Regions from separate parts of the Homo sapiens genome. Here region 2 is linked to region 1. Evidence: promoter capture Hi-C in 16 types of primary human blood cells and fetal thymus (Javierre and others, 2016). All regions are on one chromosome and are shown on one strand. The core of a region is centred on a gene start or on the middle of the fragment in contact, and the rest is flanking DNA. Distances in the headings are between cores, read along the strand shown. Region 1 holds the start of SLC35E3 (solute carrier family 35 member E3). Region 2 overlaps FRS2 (fibroblast growth factor receptor substrate 2).

Region 1 (7,887 bases), core at 3,037-5,536:
AACTACCCTCTGGTTTGTACTCCTCCCTCACTGCCTCCTGCACTTAACAGTTTTTAAGGCAGATGCCTGCCTTCCTCTTTCATCGCCCTGACTGATGTCTTTTACTATTTGCTGAGATCTACTGCTCTTCCCTCATCGCTTGAGCATCCTTAACCTTATATTGGCCAGTCTCCTGGCCATCTCTACTTATATAATCTGCAGGAACTTGTTTAAAATCAACTGGTGCCTTTTTTCTACAAATGGGCTCCTCTTGTGTGTTTCCAATAATTGATGATATAATCTCCCTCAGGGATCAGAGCCTTACTTTCCTCTCTCTCACATTCAGTCAGGTTCTCCTATGTTCCCCAAAACGCCCCTGGAGTGCCTTTTAACCTTTCCCTGTCCATTCCCACCGCCCTAGCCCAGGCCCTTCCTGCCTGTCCTGTGAAGTACAGGTAGGTTCCTGACTGCTCTGCCTTTTACCCTTCCTTCCCTCTTACCCACCCTTCATTGCCATCAGTTACTTTTCTAAAGACAGGGGAATGATCAAGTCAGTCCCTGTCTGAACTCCTCTCCTGGTGCGTGCTCAATAAAGATATACTTCCTTAGCATGGCTTCACGACCCTGACATCTGGTATCACCCACTCCTCAGCCTTGTCTTCTCACAATGCACCTACTGCCTAGCCTCACCAAACAAATCAAGTTCTCCAAAAATGCTCCAGACTTTCACACACACTGCAAGGAAAAGACCAGCTGTCCTTCCCTGCTGAGCTCATTTCTGTGTGCCCTTCAATTTAAATTGTTAACTTTTCCGTAAAGTCTTACCTCACCGCCCCTCTTTAAGAGCTGCCACTTCCTCCTTGGTGTTCCTCAGAATTTTCCTCCTACCTTGGGGTACATATGCTACTGTGACCAGCTGTCTCTTTGTGTTTCTACACTGCTGGACTGTAGCTGCTTTTCATCTTTGTATCCTCAAGGGTGAACATAATGCAGAAAAGATGTCTGCTGAACGAATGAATGAGTCAACCATCTTTCTACAACTCAAGCTAATAGCTGGTCACTTGTCTTTTAACTCCTTTTAATGTCTCCAGCAGTATAAGAGAAACAACATAGAAATTATCCCAAGATACTGTGGGCAGATACAACTTTCTTTAAGAGGAATGTTTTGGGAATATACCTATTTTGTAATGGTACCTTTACCACTTACTGATAAGAAACTGTCCATTAATCTACAATCATTCCTTGGTCAATCTCATGTCAAATATCTACCTTAGGGATATAGAATCCTTTGATTCTAATCTATAGCAATTTTGAGACTTGTGTGAACAAAAATGGTCATAGTGACAGAGATGGTGAGTACTCTGAATCTATTACGTATAAGGAGTACAATTACTTGCTCTGTTTAATAAATTGCCTATACTAGGCAAAAACAAGTGCATTTAACAAGAAAGATGAATAGGAATGTTCACTAGCCTCTTCTTTTATTTAAACTGCTTCTCTGCCACTAGAAAATGTATTTCACTGCAGAATATTTTCAAATACTGTCTCTGACATGATCACTACTAGAATGTTTAAGATGCCAGGGCTCTATTACTGAACTCCTAAAATTTCAAACAAGAATGCCTTAGTTTAATAACCAGTGGATGTTTGTGAAAAAAATAAAATTGGTTACACATTTTGGCTTTGATTCCCCATGCAGGCACACCCAGAATTTCCAGACCAAGGTTTTCAGTATAGAGAGAATACCGTTTCACTGTCCCCTACAGCAAGTTATTTTTTCTCCACTAAATAAGAATCAAAAACCATACTTGTTAGGATTTTATGGTAATGAAGTAAGTGAATCCATGAACATATTTTTAATGAATATCTGCTATAGGCAAGGCACTGCGCTTGCACAAATGGAAAAATATTCATTAATATAAATTACTCTATATTTATTAATATAGAGTATAATATTGTAATAATCTATATTAGACACATTATTAAAAGCCAATAAACAAGTTGTAACAGCAGTATAATTTTTGAGGCAAAAACATCTAAAAATCTGAAATTTTTCATTACTGTTCAGATTTCTGGAAGTATACTCACTCCTTCACAACAATGTTAAAAGTAAAGAGTAAACAGAAAACATAACAAACTTAGGAAGTAAAAAGTCTTACTAGGTATTTTGTAAAGATTTCCCAGAAAATAACTTCACCCCAAGCTGAGACTGTTAAGCATGGATATTATACACTTACAAACAGGTAGGTATTTGGTGAGCATCACACACCCAAGTTTCTCTGTCTCCTTTCTTCTCTTCACCTTGAGTCAGACAACTTATGCAATTATGCTTTCTTCCCAACAGTCTATTGTCTCTATACTGTATTTTCTAAACCTTGGAATACAGCTTCAAAATTTATGAAATCTGCTAAAAAGGCACATAAAGAAAAAAAAATTACCAACCACTTGATAAAGGGATGTAACTAAAACACCAAGAGCAGCAAACACCATTCCAAGGAAATTAAACTTCACATCGTAATAAGAATTTAGGATTACACCTAAAGTTATAGGAATCTGTAACGAAAAAGAGGTAAATGTTGTTCAGATTAAATTCAAGAGACAAAAATTTAGTATTCCTTTCACAATGTCTTACAAGGCTAATGATAAACACATAACTGGGAAACAATGAACCTGTATAAATGTTTTCTGTTTTGACTTGGGAAAACTAGTTGTTAATCCTATTTCCTAAACGTGAAATATGACAAATCTATATTGATATTCACATTTAATTCCATTCTAAATTTGTGGTAAATATATTGCACTTTGCAAGAAAATACCACATGAATACAAAGGTGAGTAAATGGATCCCCAAACTAGTGTCTAAACAGCATAAGCATAAATATAAAACAATAAAAGCATAAAGACCTTAAATATAAGGCCAGGCACGGTGGCTCACCACTGTAACCCCAGCGCTTTCGGAGGCCAAGGCGGGCAGATCACCTGAGGTCAGAGTTCGAGACCAGCCTGATTAACATGGAGAAACCCCGTCTTTACTAAAAATACAAAATTAGCCGGGCGTGGTGGCGCATGCCTGTAATCCCAGCTACTCGGGAGGCTGAGGCAGGAGAATCGCTTAAACCCGGGAGGCGGAGGTTGCGGTGAGCCGAGATCGTGCCATTGCACTCCAGCCTGGGCAACAAGAGTGAAATTCCGTCTCAAAAAGAAAAAAAAAAAAAAGAAAAAGACCTTAAATAAGTTACTAAGTGCTAAAATTGAGTCCACCTCCTTTTATTTAAAGATGCAGACAGCTCTAAAGTATGGTGCTGCAGACGTTTTGAGACCTACTTTATGCTACATCTTTTCACGTTTTATCATACACGATTTGATTCCCCTGGGGGAGAAAGGCTGTTTTTGTTTGAGCTTTTGCAGATATTCTGATAACACTGGACTGTACCACCCAATACAGCTTTTTTTCTTATCGATCACAGCATTTAACGATTTCCATCAAATGGCAGCTACTAAAATTCACACATGCCCACTCTTCTGGGCTGACAAGATGGCCTTTTCCCCCTCCCTAAAATAAGCCTAAAAGTTCACATGCCCACAGATGACTCATTTGTGGATTTCAAGATGAAGGGAAAGACCAGTGTGCGTTCGAATTTCCCGGGGCCAGTGCAGGAGGTGGGTCGGGAGAGCGGCGCCTTGGGAAGCTGAAGCTACTCACCAGCGTGAGCTGGATTCTGGTGGAGAAGGTTTTCTGGTAGCAGAAGGTCTGGATGGCTATGATCACCGGCGTGGTCATGGCCTTGGCCAGCTGATAGGTGCCTATGGTGTTGTTCTGCAGAGAAAGGTTAGTGAAGACCACAAAGCCACAGAAGCTGAGGGCCAGGAGGAGGAGCCTGGAGGGCGGCAGACTTTTGGGGGCAAAGATGTCCAGCTTCTGGCAGATATACAAGCCCAGCCAGGTGACCACGAAGTGCACCAGGGTCAGGCTCATGTTGGGGAAGCCGTGGTACACATAAATCCATTTGTTGAGGAACACAATGCAGATGGACACCAGCAGGTTGAACAGGAGCCCGGCGGCGATTCGCCAGTGGCCCCGCACTCGGTCCACCAGCAATGCCATGATCCCCGCGAAGCTGGGGCCGTCTAGCCTCGGAAGGGGCGCCGGGCCTGTCTCCGGCTGCCCTTCTACTCCACCGCCGCGTCCTCGCAGACGCCGACCTCACCGTCTGACCCAGGAGTGGCATGCACAGATCAACCCCGGGCGAGTAGCACTCTTAACAGAGGACACACACCCCGCCGCCGCCCTGTAAGCCAGCTAGGACGCCGCAGCACGTCCCACGCCCCGCTCATCTCCGCCCGCAGCCACGTGACTCGGGGCTCCAGTGCTTCCGCCCCCGAGCCGCTGGCTGAACGGCCGCTACCCTGCGCAGGCGCGCTGAGCCTTGGGCGCGCGACGCTTGCGTCTTTGGGTCCTATCCTCTGGGTCCCCGACCCCCTTGGTCACCTAACGCCTACCTGACTGGACCAATCTAGGACCCCTTTCTTGATGTTTGTTTCCTGTGTGTCATTGACCCGATTTGCTAGACAACTTCTCTCTGGCTGTGCAGACACTGTTAGCCAATTTTACGTATTAAATGCTGAGCAAATTTAGTAGCCCTCGCCAGAGGGGGGAAAGAACTTATTGAAAGCATGTTTTTATTTTTTATTTTTGGAAAAAGACATTCAAAATTTACTTTCCAACAGACAGCATCATCGGGTATAACTACAAGGGTTTCTCCTTAGATCATACATTCACAAAGCATTATTAGCTCAACAGTGAGAAAATGTGTTCTCTAAAGATGTCCCCTTGACAATGTAAACGAGTGCTACTGTGTTCACTTACAACTCGAGAAAAAAACGTACAACCTGGCAAAACCGTATATATATACAGCTGTCTCTAGGGGTGCATACAAATATATATATATGTTTTGGATCAGGTCAGGTGCAATGACTAAGAGATAGAACTTTGAGTAACAGTCTTGATCGACAGTAAGGTCCTTCACACAGAAGTCAGGTTCTTCCTTTCTCCTTCCTCCTTAAGTCGATAAAGAAAGATTATATATTGTAGATATTACAGGTACAAAAGGAGATTTTTAAAAAAGGAATCACAAAAACATCTTGAATGTCCAGCTGTTCCTGCCAATACATCAATTCTTAGTTTTAAGACAGAGTCTAGGATTAATTCAGCAGTCATAAAATTAAAAAGAGAGACTGTGGTACAAAAAATTTAAAATAAATGAGGAAGTAGGGCATGGTGGCGTGGGCCTGTAGTCCCAGCTATTTGAGAGACTGACGTGGGAGGATTGCTTGAGCCCAGGAGTTGGAAGCCGGGATGGGCAACATAGTGAGACCCCCATCTCTAAATTAAATAAATAAATGAGGTAGGGAAATTAAAACTTTCACACCCAGGACATGCCTGTTCCAACTTTGTAGCCTTCATGCAATGCTCAAGGAAAAAGTCTTCATAATTCCTTGGCATAAGTCACACCAAGAAAAGTTTTTAAAACTTAGTATGCGAACCTGTGATAGGCAACACGCCCTTCCCTGAGTTTCCTCTCTAGAATGAAAACCCAGTTCTTCAAGAGTAGGCACTGAGGAACTAAATTAAGTTGCCTGAAATTTCCCACTCAGGTGCCCACCACTTCTGGTGTTCAGGAAGAGAGGCATTTGGGAATTGTGAGGAGCACATTGGCACTCTTGGGGCTCCAACTGAACTGTATTTAAATAAGCAGCAACACACACATTGACTCCCTAAGGACTCAAAGGAGTCCAATTGGCTGGGTGCAGTGGCTTATGCCTGTAATCCCAGCACTTTGAGAGATCGAGGCGAGTGGATCACTTGAGGTCAAGAGTTTGAGACCAGCCTGGCCAACATGGCAAAACCCCGTCTCTACTAAAAATACAAAAATTAGCCAGGCGTGGTGGCAGGCGCCTGTAATCCCAGCTACTAGGGAGGCTGAGGCAGGAGAATCGCTTGAACCCAGGAGGCGGAGGTTTGCAGTGAGATATCATGCCACTGCACTCCGGCCTGGGAGACAGAGCAAGACCATGTCTCAAAAATAAATAAATAAATAAAAATTAAAAACAAGTCCATTTGAGGGCATCCTAATTAAGAGTCTAAGGTTGAAGGAATTTTGTAATTCCACAACCTTAGTGGGTTTCTGTGCTGTGTTTTTTAAAGGACATTCAAAAAACAAGGCACAACAAAAGACAAATACAGAGTGGGGGACATGCAAAACAAGTTCCTAAATAGATGACAGACCTTGTCCATTTACCCACATACGGTTACGATGGAAGCATACAATATTCCTCCTCCTCATTTAGGCTAAGTAGTTTTCCCACTGTTGTTCAACAAATAGGTAACAGTCTTTGGAAATAGTCACCCTGGGTTGTACAAAGTTTCTATATATACAGTTTGTTGCAAGTAACAAAACTACTTTTAAGACTCACTTATTTCCCCTCCCCACCCCAAATCTAGTCTGTATTTGTTTTGGTATGAATTTTTTGTTTTTATTTTTTGCAAAGTAGCATAGCAATAATCATGATTACAGGACTGCATGAGCTGTAAAAATCATTTGCATATTAGTAAGAATAAAGAAAACAGGAAGACAAGATGAATTCTTTAGAGAAATAAAACAAAAAAAGCACATAATATAGAACTGATCAAATTCTATGATCCCATCTCAGGCTTCCCAAGCCAGCTGTCTCTAGGGGTGGCATCTATAAATACATATTCAAGAAATTCCTTAGATGATTAGCAAGTTTGGGGAATTACTGTTTTCTATTAGAATCACATTCTTTTAGTTGTCTCCTGTTTATAAGCCCTACACTCTAGCCTATTTGGTGTATTTGTTGGTTCATAATAATGCCCAGCATTTATCATTTCTTGCTCATACTGATTTCTTAATCTATAGAGCCTCATCCTTCTTGTGTCACTCTTTGCCTTTGCAAATTCAGTGCATTACTCAAACCCCAAACCAATACTACTTCCTGAGAGTCTTTTCAGCTGGAGAGAGGTTCTTCCTGCTCAGACTACTTGTAATTCTTTCTTTTTTTGGAGACAGTGTCTCGCTCTGTCCCCAAGGCTGGAGTGCAGTGGCGTGATCTCGGCTCACTGCAACCTCTGCCTTCCAGGTTCAAGAGATTCTCATGCCTCAGCCTCCCCTGAGTAGCTGGGATTACAGGCACCTGCCACCATGCCCGGCTAATTTTTGTATTTTTTTAGTAGAGACAGGGTTTCACCATGTTGGCCAGGCTGGTCTCAAACTCCTGACGACAGGTGATCCACCTGCCTCGGCCTCCCGAAGTGCTGGGGTTACAGACGTGAGCCACTGCACCCAGCCACTACTTGTATTTTTAAATGACACCTTTTAAATGTACTTATGGTATTTCCCCTATTAGAAGAGCGGGATCTGTAATCTCCAATATATTCAGTGCTTACTGTGTGCCAGGTACTACGCTAAGTCTTTATATGCTCTTATTTTGATAGGAAGTTTGCTAAATGAAAGTTAAACTAGAAATGTCTTCAAAATAACTAAAATAATAATAGCATGTTATGTTAGAAAAATTCTTGTTATAGTCATCTTCTTAATTTTAATATTCAAAAATACTAAATTTTATGATAAATAAAAAATTACGTACCTGGCTTAAAAATAAATCTACTTTCCATCATCTTTATGATTTTAAAATATCAGAATGCTTATGATTACAGAAAAAACTAGAACAGAAAATTTAATTTTCTTATTACATGAAAAAGAGACAACCCTGGAATTTGTAAAAACAGAAAATTTTAATTTTTATATAGTTTTATTAACAAGCACACAGAGAAACGCTGATATCCCTACATGTTGAAAGTGTCACGATAATATTCTGAAAAGTACAAAA
Region 2 (7,887 bases), core at 548-3,047, 840 kb before region 1:
TGACAGGTTGAATGGGCCCACAAAACCTAAAACATGTATTATCTAATTCTTTACAGAAAAAGTTTGCTGACCCTGGTTTACAGTATTCCTCAGGTCCAACATGAAAAGGGGAGTTCAGGCTGGACAAATTGTTATTTTAAATCTCCCAAGAGTTTTCTCTTCTTTGTAGGAAAATTTGGTCTTCTTTCAGGAAATGTACTTTCCTAGGCAGATCCCAAATCGCATTCTGGAATGAGAAGATTCACAATAAAAAACTAAGATGCCTGCACAATATTGAAAAAGGTTGTTTTTATTGTGGGCAAAATTACATACCTGGAGATATTTATTATGTCCTCTGGTAGGCAAGCCTGAGACTGTGTGTGATGGGGAAACCAATGACTGCTCCCTGCTGGGCTTTGAATGTAGCCAGAGGCATTTGGATGGGGAGAAGGAGGCAGGCCCTGCCACCTTGTGGAACTGAGGCTAGAGGCAGCCAGGAAGAGACTCTATGATGGGACCCTTGGAAATGTGTCCTTTCTCCATTGCATCTTTTGACCCTTCCTTCTTTCCTACTTCCCCCTCCTTTGATGACACCTCTACACCTAGAGGCTAAACACTCAGCTTCTAGACCCAGACTATATGAGTTTGAATTTCAACCATTTTACGTACTAGCTTTGTAGTCTTGGGTGGGTTTCACAGGCTCTTTAAATCAGTTCATTGAAGGCCATTCAGAGCGTGATCAATGTGCTGGTTTACCAAAAACTGTCTCTTTTAGCTGTTTATACTTTTTTGTTGTTGTTGTTGTTGTTGAAACAGAGTTTCACTCTGTCGCTCGGGCTGGAGTGCAGTGGTATGATCTCAACTCACTGCAACCTCCGCCTCCCGGGTTCAAGCAATTCTCCTGCCTCAGCCTCCCAAATAGCTGGGACTACAGGCATGCACCACCACAGCTGGCTAATTTTTGTATTTTTAGTAGAGACAGGGTTTAACCATGTTGGCCAGGGTGGTCTCGAACTTCTGACCTCAAGCAATCTGCCCACCTCAGTCTCCCAAAGTGCTGGGATTACAGGCATGAGCCACCACACCTATATATATATTTTTTAATTGAGACAGGGTCTTACTCTGTCACCCAGGCAGGAGTGCAGTGGTGTGATCTCCACTCACTGCAACCTCTGCCTCCTGACTTCAAGCGATCCTCCGACCTGTCTCCCGAGTAGCTGGAAATACAGGCATGCGCCACCACACCAGCTAATTTTTTGTATTTTTGGTGGAGACGGGATTTTGCCATGTTTCTCAGGCTGGTCTTGAACTCCTGAATTCATGCGATCTGCCCACCTTGGCCTCCCAAAGTGCTGGAATTACAGGCAGAAGCCACTGTGCCCATCTATTTATACATTTTATCGTAATTTGTATTAGATAGGTTACAGGGCCTATGGAGATAGTGAGACCTTGGGAATCCATGTTTCTGTGATTAAACACGTTGTGTGACTTTCTCCTGGCTCATCTTCTGTCCTCTACTCTCAAGTCCCTTGGTCTTGGCTTCTCTTAGTTAACCCTTCCTCCTCCCTCAAAGTCTTTGTGACCCTCTCCTCTCTATGACCCTGTGTCCTCCTCTCTCTTCCCCTTGGTATAATTTGGCTTTCAGTGAATTGGCTTTTTGTTAACTGGTCAGCTTCCAGTTATATAATCTCTCTGTGCCTCAATTTCCCTTTGTGTAAAATGGAGATAATTATCACAGATTAAATAGCTTAGAACAGTGCCTGTTTAGCTTAGCTATTGTTATCATTATATCCCAAGTCTTCTAATAGGCTTTATAAATATAGTAGCCGAGGTTGGATATGCTTGGCATGTTATGGAAGTAGGAAAGCACTGTAGCATATCATTATTTGATGGCTAGAGGTGATTTGGGAGCAAGGGTAGATTCATTAACTGGAGTGAAATAACTGGCGAAGTGGCAAACAACCACCAGAACAGAGTTATGGGACTTGTCAACATTCCTCAGGAACAGTTAGAATACCTGGGGAAGGAAACCAAATAAAGGACCAGGAGTCCACAGTCACATTAAGTTGGGTCCACCCAGACACCTACTGTTTGGGTAGTAGGGAGAAGGTTAGAAGACTTGATATTTCTCCTGTTGCAGACCGTGATAGTTTGTACACAGGAATCAGTCTGTGGAGCACACTTAGAGGAGCACTTTAAAAAAAAAAAAAACAGGGTCTCATTATGTTGCCCAGGCTGGACCACAGTGGCAGGATCACAGTTCATTGCAGCCTCAACCTCCCAGGCTTAATCTATCCTCCTGCCTCAGTCTCTTGAGTAGCTGGGACTACAAGCACACACCACCACGCCAGTTGATTTTTGTATTTTTTCATAGAAACAGGTTTTCACCATGTTGCCCAGGCTGGTCTCAAACTTCTGGGCTGAAGTGATCCACCCTCCACAGCCTCCCAAAGTGCTGGGATTACGGGCATGAGCCACCATGCCCAGCCCCCAAATATATCTTAAATCTCAATGAACTGACACCATCAACCATCTCAGTCACCCAAACCAGATAACTGGGGGTCATCCTTGACCCCTCCATTTCTGTCATTCCCCTTATCAATCAGAGGTGTTAATTCTTCCTCCTTTAGGCCCTCTATTACATTGGTGGCCCTGAATAAACTACACTTTTGATGTTCATGCTTTTATATGAGCCACTGTAATTCAACAAAATACAACAGAATTGACATTGTGCCAGTTCTGGGCTTAGGCCTCAAGAAAGCCTAGCAGCATCTACTTTTGTGCTCTTGGGAACCCTAAGCTGCCATGTAAGAAGACCACATGAAGAAAGACCCAAGACTTCATGGAAGAAAACTAAGGAACACAGCTGAGAGCTTTAAGTTCCAGACATAACCTAGTGGAACTGGTCCAGCCAGCCCTCAGCTGCTTGAATCATACTAGCATAGGCACAAAGCATATGAGGAAGCCAGGCCTCCAGACATCATGTGAGATGAGCCATCTCTGCTGTGCCCTGCCCATCTCGATCTATAGCAACTTGAGACATTAAATGATTGCTGCTTTAAGCCACTAACTTTTAGGGTGGTTTGTTGCACAGCAGTAAACAATCTAAACAGTCCTTTAACAATGCCTTTGAATACGGATTTATCAGATCTGGCTCCATTTCTGAAAAAGCCTCTCAACCAGTCTCCCTGCTTTATTAAAATACCGTAGGGCCAGCTACTTGGGAGGCAGAGCCAGGAGAATGGCATGAACCTGGGAGGGGGAGCTTGCAGTGAGCCGAGATGGCGCCACTGCACTCCATCCAGCCTGGGCAACAGGGAGAGACTCCGTCTCAAAAAAAAAAAAAAAAAAAAAAAAAAAAATACTGCGCCCTTCACGTATCCATGTTGTCAGAGAAATCTTTCTAAACTATTATTTTTCTGGTGTTTAAAATCCTTCAAGTTCTCTCACCTAATTTAAACAAAAGCTCCTTAGGATTCTGTGATCTGTTTCTCATTTCTCCTTTCTTCTGTATCCCCCAACCCTGCCTTTGCTCTCCATGCGCTTAGTCATTTGGAACCTCTTGCAACCACTGAATGTCATGATCTTTCTATACCTCTGTGCCTTTGCACATGCTATCCCTTCTCCCTAAGACATCCTCTCTAAGCTACAAAGACTTTCAACAAACCACCTCAGGGATCACCCCCTCTAAGAAGCTTTGCTTGAAAACCTCCACCCCTAGGCTGAGTTGGATGCCCTTCCTTTGTGTGTGTCTTTATCATGCCAGTTACATCAATCACTTGTGGACATGTCCATCTCCTTCATTGTTTAAATAATTTCCATCTTGACCTGTACTCAACTAAGGCTTTGCAATGTCACTCAGTGGCTAAAAACAGGTTTGAAGTCCCAGAGCTGAGAACTACTATTTGGAATGATCACACAGCTAAAACTGTGAGAAAGCCTGTCATATAGTTACAATTTCATTTTGATATCTTCATTTTGAAAATGGAGGCAGTGATATGAGACTAGGAAAGAAAATGTCACAAAGTTTCAAGTAGTATGTGAAATATAAATACAATAAAACTTTTAAGTAGATATCCGACCAAACGTTTTATTGGGGTTTTATTGCAATCTACTTTCAGCAATAAGGGGAAAGTGAGCATGAAAAGAACTCCAATCAGACTTTATTCAATAAAGCAGCTTTTCATGAATGCTTCAGGTCAGTGTATGATCAGCTCAGCTTCCAGTATCAACTTGAGTACCTCATTATGGATATTTATGCTAGAATGACAACAGTAAGGCATTGCAAAATCCAAAGTCATCTAATATTAAACCATATTTTACATAATTTGTAGGACAGTATACTAATACTCTACAATAAATAAGGATTTAAAAATGTGTTGCTTAGCCCTTGAACTAAATTCAATTACTAGCTTATTCTAAGTACTCCAGTTAATAAACGTTTGATTGTAAAGAACTCTGACTTCTCCAAAGATAAAAAAAATTAGTTGTCATGACAAAAATTAAGCTTAAAAAGCACATTCACACTTGTCCTTAAAAGCAAGTTTACATCATATATGAGAAAACTTTTCATGCCTGATGACATGGCTTATATGGCAAAAAACAGTCATATGCAAAGGACAACTAGAGGGCAATCGTCCCATCCCCACTTCCTCCAAAAAGCCACACTCGGCCTCAGTGTAAAAGTTATATTTTATTGCCATGCTACAAAATGTATGAAGTTGGCACTGATAGGGAGAAATAGAGAACAAAGGGTGGGAAGGGATAGAGGGAAAATTATGTTGTTACATATACAACAAGGTTTTATTTTAATTAACAGTGGTTACGTTTTGCCAATATTAAAAATGCAAACCAAAATTTAAAATGCTGATCTGAAACAGCATTAAGATACAATGTATGCATAGTACAGTATCACTTATGTCTTTTTATTAGAGAAATATGGAATGTTTATAAAAGAAATTAACCATGGGGGTAAAATTCATATTTCATATACAATTTGGCAATGGTAGTCCCACTGTTGGACAATTTTTTATAAAAGAAAAAATTAAAAATCTAATAAGCTACCTTTATACAAAGTTGCTATATTTATGCCTTTACGTAGGAAAAAAACATTTATAATGCAAATTAGGACATACAATAGTCTTACAATATTATACAATGTAATGAAAATAAAACATAACACAAAGTTTGTCCTTTATAAAATGTATATTTTGCATTACTAATGCAAATGTGGCACACTGGTGACTACTGTACTACTTATACCAGTCTGTTTCCATGCTATAACTGTCCAATTGCCATAGAACTGCAATTATAATGATGCTACAAAAGAACTGTGTTATACCAAAAATGAGGAAGTAGGGATGGGGAACAGGGATGTAAAGAACAGGAAAGATAGATAGGGTGCTGGTTTGGGCAGAGTATACTGTGGTACGTCATAAAATATGTTAATTTTTCAAGCCAAAAACATTTTCTTTACATTCTGTAATTTCGTACCAATGCCTTTATTCAAATTTGGCAAACATCAAGGAAAAGGTAATTAGTACCATATACCTCACACATCAGAAATATGAATGAGATGCCAATACATCAGTTACTTGTGAATGATGTCTCTGATGGTATGTCTATTTCAAGAATATATGTATTTATACACACACACTACACATTGCACAAAACATTTGGGCATTATAGGTTAGGAATAGCACGGGGGAATTGGGAAGTACTTTTTCATCTGTTAAAACCTTTACCTTGAGGCAAAAATATGGCGGCACATTGTTGGGAAATTATGAAAACATAAGGCCCCTGTCCCATTTTTAATAGAACATTATTGAGGTACATTTTTATATGCTGTGCCACAGTTTTGGGGAGGGGGAGGAGATAAACACTAGCTTGACTTGTTCTATTTATAACATTGAACGCTGGAGAGGGTCAACATTAGTATCTATAAAAACAAAGATTGCTTGGCAAATTTTCCTAAGTCCCAGATATGATGTATTCTGGATATACTGAGAAGTGAAAAGCTTTTTGCTGAATCTTAAAGAGTAAAGTGCATATCTCATCACTCCACAGCAGCAGTAAATAAAAGGAAATATTTGCCAGTCTTCCTGGAGGGAGGGAAGGCACCATATTTTCATTTTTAGAAGAAGATGAAACTGGGAAATAAAACACACTAAGAAAAAACACAAGTAATACCAATATCAGTTTCCAACCCTAGCATGGGATAGATGCTGTTATGATTTGTATGGATAAAACAGTATTCTATTTGGAGGGAAAACATTAACAATGATTATATTTCCAAAACCAAAAAGAAGGATCACATGGTCTACCAACAGAATTATCTAAAATTAGATCTGCCTCAGAAAATCTGAGATATATGGCCACAATTATATGCTAATAAAATATCAATATTTCATTCTAAAATGCACCTAGTAATAGGTACATCCTTCGAGGACACAGCTTAATGCCCATTACTAAACTACTGCAAAGGACAAGTAGTATTCTAAATTACCTTTTATTAAATAGGAACACAAGTGATTTCTAGAAAATATCTAGAAATTAACACCAGTTGTATATATTTTCCTAATACTCTTATAGTACCTAAAATCAAATTCTTAGCAGACAAATTGGTCCCATTTTCCTTTTTAAAGCACATAGTATTTAAAGCATAAACTGTAATGATTATATTGGAGTTATCTAAAAAAAATAAAAACTAATTAGAATCCGGGGGAAACAATGAAAAGGATGACGGAAAGAAAGAATAAAGTACCCAACCTCCAAAATGAATAAATAGATCAGCCCTTGCATTTGGAGATTAATGTTCTGCCTTGACTGGCTGTTTCAGAAAAAAATGTGCAATGGTTCCATCATAATTCTTATTCCACATTACAAAAACTATTACATAAATTTGGCACAATTAGCAATTTACTCAGAAGAAAGGATAAGTGGAACAATATATTAAAAATGGAACCTGCATCATGGAAACTGCACACCTATACCACTGCTCTCTTTTAAGAGAACAGTGAGCACTTTAATAAGCACCAAGTTCACAGGGGAACAAAAGGGAGAAAAGAAAATTCTGCTATGCACATAGAATGATAAAATACACTGATATTGATTTATAGTAAAGACACTAAAAATGGCACTAAAACGATAAAGACACCTTTAATAATTTATTTTCTTTATAATGATCCCACTCTATTGTTCTCCTAATCCATCATTGTCCTATGATTCGGTTACTGAATAGGTTGGATGCCAATATGACTAAAACTTTTTCATGCTAAATTAACCTTAGTTATATCTGGTAGATCCAGATCATAATCTCAAACTTCCTCATATTTAGAGAAAATAGTAAAATATTTTGCAAGGTTACCTAACCTTTTCCACTCTACCTTCTCTCGTATTCTCTAGTGTTTAGGAAATTGGAACATCTTTGATTTTCCAAGAGTTTGACATATGGAGACTCTTCAGTTTATATAAACTTTAATTCATTTTAAATCCTAAATTATGATACAATCTCACTGCTACAAGACTTCCACTGTACCTGCTATGCTGGCAACAATATTAATATTTCATGGAAATCGAAGGATAATCAAAGATCCAGCTACAAGTAAAAGGACAGCAGAGCTGAGGAACACTAGAGTGGGCAGAGTACAACTGCAGCGTGTAGCTGGGGGAATTACTGCTAAAGTGCTGGGGAAGAGTGCCCACAGAGACAACACGGTACACCTTGAGGGAACTTTGCATGTTAAAAGTAGCTTCCTTTTTTTCTCAGTTTGCTAAAGAGATCACCTATGGACACAAGCAAATTTAGAATTGGAGAATGTTTTTATCAACTTGAAAAGTAAACAGCTTATAAATAAATACTGGACAAGGGCAACCCTGTTACAGACTAACAGTAAGTTCCAAATGAAC

Evidence for each region. Contacts are between HindIII fragments. The CHiCAGO score rates a contact against its expected background, and 5 or more counts as called.
Region 2: a contact is called between a fragment that was not itself captured here and the fragment with the promoter of SLC35E3 in region 1, in 1 of 17 cell types (monocytes). The highest score is 5.4, in monocytes.

Annotation. Positions count from the first base shown.
Region 1 is chr12:68,742,575-68,750,461 of GRCh38, reverse strand. It overlaps SLC35E3 (solute carrier family 35 member E3), which reads right to left and starts at 4,286. Exons shown (of 5, transcript NM_018656.5): 1 at 3,683-4,286; 2 at 2,422-2,532. The coding sequence starts at 4,084. It overlaps NUP107 (nucleoporin 107), which reads right to left. Exons shown (of 28, transcript NM_020401.4): 28 at 4,653-7,887. RefSeq lists enhancers at 3,264-3,453, 3,814-3,923, 3,974-4,073, 3,923-4,613. The HindIII fragment of the contact is 13,773 bases long and covers 1-7,887 here.
Region 2 is chr12:69,575,949-69,583,835 of GRCh38, reverse strand. It overlaps FRS2 (fibroblast growth factor receptor substrate 2), which reads right to left. Exons shown (of 9, transcript NM_001278356.2): 9 at 4,043-7,887. Among named protein-coding and RNA genes, the nearest start is that of MIR3913-2, 4.8 kb to the left of the region's middle. The HindIII fragment of the contact is 3,759 bases long and covers 1-3,676 here.